Linked DNA regions of Homo sapiens: region 2 is linked to region 1. Evidence: promoter capture Hi-C in 16 types of primary human blood cells and fetal thymus (Javierre and others, 2016). All regions are on one chromosome and are shown on one strand. The core of a region is centred on a gene start or on the middle of the fragment in contact, and the rest is flanking DNA. Distances in the headings are between cores, read along the strand shown. Region 1 holds the start of DCTN4 (dynactin subunit 4). Region 2 overlaps SYNPO (synaptopodin).

Region 1 (3,746 bases), core at 600-3,099:
GCAGGGACAAGATAATTGGCCACTTAATTATTTAAAATCAGTGCTCTAAAAAGTGTCTGTTTTATGTGGATTCAGCTCAAGTCTCCAGCCTTTCTGTACCTGCAGGCTCTGGGACTTCATTTTAACAGCATAGTCCAGAAAAGGGAATTTAAACTCAGTAGAGACTAGTTTATAAACCAGAAAACCAACGAATTCATTAACCTAAAGAAATAATTGCAAATGAGTTGGCTAGTAATATATTCTCTCCTAGGAGCAGATGTCACCTATGAAACTAAATTAGTGCCAGGCTATTGCTTGGTGAACAAGTAATGACTTTTAGGCTCAATTGGTAAAGCGTGACATAAATTGTGAGATTAGCACTGTATAAGCTGAAAAGGTCTATATAAATGTAAGGTATTATTAACATCACCATATTAGAAAATATGCTGGAGGGAGTATACATAGGGGTTATACCTGCAAGCACTAGAGTCAGAGAGAAAAGGGTTCTACCTCCATCTATGAAACCTTATAGAGGAGTCACTGCACTTCCCTGTGCCTCAGTTTCCTGCTCTGTAAAATAGAAATAATGATAGCCACATGCTTTTTGGAGCTGTTGTAAGAATTAAATTAGACAATGTATGTAAAGTTTTGACACAGTGTGCTGCACTTAATAAGTGCTCAATAAATGTTTGCTAATAGTATTCAGTTCCCTTTCTTCTCAATCACCAACTCTAACGTCAGACAGGTAATAATACAACACTACTACAATTATAAAAATGTAGACCTGGTGGCAGGCAACAGAGGCTCCAGTTTCTGCTAGGCAGTTCTAGGTGGTCATTTTACATACTGGGGAGTCCCAGTTAGAGAAAGGGAGTCAGGCTAGTGGGACCAAGGGATAGCAAGAAGAGCAGATGCACTCTAAGTCTGCCTTTCTTCATGGTGCAGGACACGTAGCCCTCCTGTGCAAATAACTCACAATCTTCCTGCACTCAGCTATCACGAGACACATGCAAGTTAGCTCCCTGTAACCTTGGAGTTCTCGGTACTGCACAGCACTCTGCAGCCCAAGAACCATCGGATAAAATCTCCAGCAAGCCTTTGTTTCCTTGAAGTCAGCTCCTCTCTGGCTGGTCTGCCCATTGCAACCTTTCAACGTATTTTCATACCTTCTCTAATAAATCTGCATTTCTTTACCTAAAACTGTTGATAAATTATTTTCCCACCCATGTAATACCAGTCTCACGTAGTCGCTGCTCACCCAAGAGGCAGACCTGAGCCTTAGTTTACACATTAGAAAAACGTAGACGCCTACCAACATTGTTCATTCATTGATTTCATTCCCTCCTTTTCATACTTATTGAAGGTCCACAATACAGACTTAGACCTAACGCTAACTATGTACTCAAAAACCTGCGTTTCAAATGAGATAATGTATGTGAAAGTTCCCAAAGGCCATTGGCAAGACTCAGAAGACAGTGCTGGTGTGACTCCTGTCTTGCAGTCCCCACGGAGCCCTGTCCCTTTGAGACCTTCCATTTGTCTCCTGGATGCTCGCCTGTTAAGTGGGGCAGAGGAGGCCGTCGTAAATAAGACAAAAGATCAGGCTTCCATTCTGGAAGAAAAGAATAAAAGGAGCTCACTGAGTCCAGACCTAATGGCAGTAAGGGCAGTGGACGCTCACAAAAGCGCTGGGGGACGGGCCCAGAGTTGGGGAGAAAACAGGGATCCCAGCTGCGCACGCGCGCTCTGGTTTTCGACGGGCGCAGAGCCGGACGAGGTGGGAAACCTAACGTCAAAGTCTACGTAGGAAGTCGTAGGGAAGGCAGCGAGGAAGACGCTGGCTCTCGGGTCACGTGATGCGCCGGGAGCGTCATCGCCTCCTCCCTCCCCAAGATGGCGTCCTTGCTGCAGTCGGACCGGGTTCTCTATCTAGTCCAGGGAGAAAAGAAGGTTCGGGCCCCGCTCTCGCAACTCTACTTCTGCCGCTATTGTAGCGAACTGCGGTCGCTGGAATGTGTGTCTCACGAGGTAACAGAGTCGCCCTATAGCGAGTATGTGGGGTGGGGGGGGCGCGGCGTTCATGCTAGTCACTGCCACCGGAAGGCTGGAGCTATTTTCCTTCCTTACTGATTGGTTATGTCTTCCGTCACTCGGGTTTGCCTGCGATTTAATTTGCTTCTAATCTGTCACTTGGAAAGGAGGAGCAGCCTCGGGTGGGACTGAGCGGATCTTCTGGTTCTAGAGCGGCCTCTGATTGGACAAACTTGACTTAGGGACCGTGTCTGTCTGCGATGGGGCTTGGTAATTGGGTGGACTACGGAGAAAGGTCTGGGGGTGCTTAGTTCAGGCCACTTAAGGGGCGAAAAACTGCCTTTCCAGGATTTATTGCGAGGATGGAGGGAGGCGCAGGCGTTCTCATTCATAGTTCTCCCATCCTGAAAGTTCTGTTCCTCTTTTGTCCAGAAACTGGGCCCTCGTCAGACTGCCTTGCCCTGTTCCTGACTCAGGCCAAGGCCTGCAGCCGGGAAGAGGTTGGGGCGGCGTGAGTTATGTGAAAAGCGCTCAGAATACAGTATGTCATGTAAGAAGCTGAAAGTGTATTTATGGAGCTAGAGGACAATGCTGTCCTTCCCTGGCACAAGTGGGCGTCCGAAGTTGGATTTTTCAAAAAGAAGACCCCGGCCAGTAAAAAGTCACCAAATAACAAAACCCCAAAACTTCTGCAGCGCTTGGCACATCTTGTTTATTCAGTAAGCTTTAGGGATTAAAAGGCGAGTAAGACATAAAATGCGCTGTTTAATAAGCCATAGTCTTAGTGAAGAAAAAGCTGATAGTAGTAATAGTTGCTGCTTATTCGATACTTGCTATATGTCATGTGCTTTATGTAATCTTCAAACCAATTTAAGTGGATACTTTTTTTAAAAAATTTTTTTTACAGGTAAAGAAACAGATACAGAGTGTTCGCTGTAAGTCACACAGCCAGTAATTTGGGGGTGGGAAGGAGGACCTGGATTTGAATCTAAACAGCCTAACTCAGAGTGTTTTTTACTGAAGATCCCGGGACTGTTAAAATAAATGCATATGAAAACACATACTATAAGCCATTTTATGTGTTATTAATAACTTATTTTATTGAAGATACTTTTCATAATAGGAATAGTCAAGAAAAGCAATTAAATAATACAAGAAAAATCGTATATATTAAAAATATGGCATCGATTTTTCTTCTCATCTCCATTAGCACTTTCCTTATGTGTATCTCCTTGATGATTCCCTATTCCAGCTCCACCTCCAGAATTTATTGGATCATATTCTCCTGTGGTGAATAGAGTGCTCAGTCTCCATGATCTGTCTCTAAGACTCTCTTCAATTAGGACATCCAGTCTGTGACAGCATCTTTTACAGCCTGATGTGTACCTGTGATATGGAGGCCATTAGAGTTTAGGGAAAGATGAAGCTCTGAGGGCTGGGGCAGGCAGTGAAGTTCTAATGGAGAATCTGGGTCTGGAGCTGCACATGAACGGACAAGCAGAATTTGGAAAGGGGGCAAAAAGGAATGACTTGTATTTTGCCTTTTTTGATGAGTCAGTGCAGAGGTTAGTTAGCAATATTGTATTTTATGTTCCTGGAGATTATTTGAGCAACAACTTTATTAATCTTTTCAAATTGACCTGTTTATAGCAGATGATGAAAAAAGCCAGTTTCTATCATAGTATTTATGTTCCAGTGATTGTCTTTTCATTTGCAGGTGACTAGAGTTCTATAAT
Region 2 (3,746 bases), core at 833-3,332, 100 kb after region 1:
CACTGGGCAGAGAAGGGGCATGGCAGGCAGTGGACATGTCACCTACAAAGATGGGTAGGGGGTTGGCAAGTAGAGCCGGAGCTGGGGGCAGTGCTGAGAGATTAGCCCAGACAGTGGGGGCAGCGGCCAGATCCCAGCAGGCTTTCAAAAGGAAACTGTGTTTATAAAGGGTTGCTGACAAGATTAAAGTGGTGAAATGGAGTGATCGGATTGGCATTTTCCAAAGATATCTTTGCTGCCATGTGGGAAATGGGTTGGAGGGGGCCAGACTGGAGGCAGGAGGACCTGACTGTCACCAGGGGTGGCTGGATCAGGGCAGTGACAAGGAGATGGAGAGGAGAGGGAGTTGAGGGTTATTTGAAGAACCCTTGGGTCTTGGTGAGGAACTGGATGTGGAAGGTGAGGAAAGGGAGTCCCACTCCCCTGTTTCATGCTTGGGTGACTGGAAGGGGAGGAGCAGGAGGGGTGGGGGCAGACACTGAGGTCAGTTTTGGATGAACTTTGAGGTGTCGGGGGACTGGGATGAGATCACCAGTAGGCAATGGGACACTGTGCTGCAGTGAGGCCCCAGCCGAAGATAAAGATTGGGTCCAAGGCACACACTCCTGGGGAAGGGTGGGCCTAGCAAGGATGGGCTGGGTGCAGGGTGGGGACCACCGGTGTCTGTGTGCTGGCAGACTATCCTGGGGTGTATTTCTGACACCTCTCAAATCAGAAGCCTAGATTCTGCTGTCCACCACCCTGACCTTAGCTTCCTGGCCCTCGGTGGGCCTGAGCTTCTAGAGAGGAAGAGTGAGGTGTGTTCCCAGGGCAAGCTTAGCCTCACCTGGGAGCAGGATCACAATCCCCTTCTCTGGCCAAAGGACACTCCTGCCAGGAGAGGATGCCTCATGGCCCGAGTCCTTGCCTCACTGGGGCTGCCTGGCTCAGACGGGACCTCTTACAGTGGCGCCTTTCCTGCCCTGGCACCCCCACCTGCCATGAGGAAACAGCCTCAGAGCACAGAGCCCTGACCCAGCTTGGCCCTGCCCACTCTGGTGATAGTGCTCTGTGGTCAGGGCCTGGACAATACCACCCTGAGACATTACCTAGACCCACTCTCCCCATTATACGGATGGGGAAGCTGAGGCCTAGAGAAGGAGTGGGCTCACCCAGGGTCACCCCGCTCGTCCATGACAGGACCAGGACTGCAGTCCAGGTACTTCTATGGCCTCAAGTTGTCCGTTGTTCCCATCTCTCCCCATGGCTGCTTCTTCCCAAGCTCCCATCCCATATGTCTCAAATATTCCCAGCCACCCAGAGTCCCATGGACTGCTCCATGCTTGGGGAGAAGGGAAGGACATCAGACACAGCTGAAAATGACACAGGAGGCAGAAGAATGCAGGAAGCATTTATTGAGGGCCAGAGCTGCATTCTACAAGAGGCAAGAGGCAGGACACAGGCAATCTCTAGTGGGTTAGAGGAGAGGTTGGGGAGAGGGCAGTGACAATGAGAGAACAGCCAGGCGCTGGCTTGGGAACTGCCGGTTTCTCAAGGCTGCCTCCTGCTAGTCCTCTGGGAAATGCAGGTAGAAATGGATCCTCTATGCTACTGCCTCAGCCAGAGGCCTGATGGTGTCCCTTCCCTGGGAGGGGCCCTTAGCCCCAGTCTCCTGTGCTACAAGGGACCCAGCAGCAGGTAGGGGCTTTGGTAAATATAGTCACTCATCATTAACTGAGTAAGAGCACCTTCTCATCTTCACAGCAGCAGGAGCATTCCTGAGGCCCAAGGAGCCCTCTAAGGTCACTCTTTCATTCCAAAGCACCCTGTCCCAACCCTATCTTCCATACTGACCTTAACTCCCTCCAGCCTCACTTGGGGGTTCCAGATCTAACATCACCCCGGTAAGTCCCAAACCCAAACTGTCCCTCACCTTTAGCAACATCCTGGTATCCTTTCACCTACATACGTTTGATCCTCAGCCAATTCCATACCCCCAGCTGATCCTGAAGCTAATATTCTGAACCTCTAGAAGGCTCTACCAGCCAACTCTGGAAACTACAGAACTCAGCCATATTCCTCCCTGAGTCCCCCCTGGGGACCTGAATCACAGCCACCAAGGTTTAGGGAACCAGTGAGGGCCTGCAGCCAGGCTCCCCCAGGTCACTGGGCACCAGGCACTAGCTAGGTCAGAGTGCACTGGGGAAGGGATGGGGCAGGATAATGTCTACTTTTCTGGGCACGATATGGACACTGGGACTGAGGTCTGACACTGAAGAAGGGGACATTTCCAAGGGGACCAGAAATACAGGCAGACCCTAACTTAACACCCTGCTCACGTACCCAAGCTCATCGGCCCCTAAATTCAAGCCCAACTAGCCCACCACCACCACCCACCCCCGACTTCCTAATATCATGGAATGCATTTCAAGACTGGAAGAGCCCTCAGGGGTCATCTGAGCCAATCCTGTCCCCTGCTAGAATCTCCTCTATGCATCCTGGCCATGCTTTTCATATTTCCCGTAACAAGTAACTCTTTGTCTCTCTCTTTCCCAATAAGCAACCCCAAACTGAGGGCAATCAGGTAAAGTCACATGGTAGCTCTGTATCTCTTCTCTCCCCAGTTCAGCTTTGAGCCCAGAACCTGCCATGAATGGGCCCAGAAGGAACAGATGAGCTGGAGGCCCAAGTCCTGGGCCTAAGGGAAATCACTGCCTTATAATTCTCTTATGGCTGCAGATAAGATGTCCTGGACAGTCTGAACTGGGATGGAGAAAGTAGCATGACAGGGACCCGGGGAGAATTTTCCTGCCTCTTCCCTCCAGAGGGGATAGTGGGACACCTTGAGCTGGCCTGGGAGACCTCTCTAAAGGTCATTGTGATAAAAATAGAGCTTGTCTGGGAAGGGATGGAAAACAGCTGCTCCTGCCTGGGACTTGGTGCCAGGGAGCCGGATGGTCAGGCCAGTGCCTGGACATGCGACACAGGCCTAGGACCTTCTGAACACACCCCGCTTGCCAGACTCCAGACAGCAGAGCCAGGAGGGGAGGGACGAGTATGGAACCCTGAAGGTAGCAAGTCCAGGGGTCCATATACACACTGCCCCGCCTCATCCAAGGCACTAACTAGTGTGTGTGTGTGTGTGTGTGTGTGTGTGTGTGTGTGTGTGTGTGAGAGAGAGAGAGAGAGAAAGAGAGAGTGTGTGTGCATCGGTGTGTGTACTGATGGGAAGGGGAATTTTGACGTTTGTGGATTGCCTTGGCCAAAGCCACCATTAAACAGATGGGAAAGCTGAGGGTCAAACAAGGAAGGGTCTTACCCAGGGTCACACAACAGCTGAATGAGAGCAAGGGCTAGAACTCAAGCTTGCGTCCCTAACCCATCCCCAACCCCAGAGCTCTCCTCTGCTGACCCCTCATCTCTGGGGCTGCCCAAAGAGGCCAGACCCTTTGGGTCCCCCAGGTCTAATGAGCCTTCTTCTGGCTCTGCCCTCCCGGGGTGGGGTCGGGGGTGGGGCTCTAGGTGGTGCAGGAGGCCTCGGCGGGGAGGCTGCCACGCTTGAGCCGAAGGCTGCCATTCCACCCGCGGGGACAGATATTGTAGCCCAGGATGCCTGGAGACTTAGCCCCGGAGTCCTCGGAGTCGAGGGACACGTCGGAGTCCGTGGGCGAGCGGCGGTAGAGGAAGGGCCTGGGAGGCGCGGGCAGCGGGCTCCGGGGACTGGTGCAGGACGAAGGACCGGCGGGCAACGGGCTCCGCGGGATGGG

Evidence for each region. The method cuts DNA at HindIII sites, captures the fragments that hold promoters and counts their contacts. A CHiCAGO score of 5 or more calls a contact.
Region 2: a contact is called between a fragment that was not itself captured here and the fragment with the promoter of DCTN4 in region 1, in 1 of 17 cell types (fetal thymus). The highest score is 5.2, in fetal thymus.

What each region holds. Positions count from the first base shown.
Region 1 is chr5:150,757,120-150,760,865 of GRCh38, reverse strand. DCTN4 (dynactin subunit 4) reads left to right here and starts at 1,849. Exons shown (of 13, transcript NM_016221.4): 1 at 1,849-2,007. The coding sequence starts at 1,873. RefSeq lists enhancers at 1,774-2,073, 2,504-2,573. The HindIII fragment of the contact is 18,997 bases long and covers 1-2,736 here.
Region 2 is chr5:150,656,839-150,660,584 of GRCh38, reverse strand. SYNPO (synaptopodin) reads right to left here. Exons shown (of 3, transcript NM_007286.6): 3 at 1,378-3,746. The coding sequence ends at 3,498. Among named protein-coding and RNA genes, the nearest start is that of MYOZ3, 2.5 kb to the left of the region's middle. The HindIII fragment of the contact is 2,529 bases long and covers 818-3,346 here.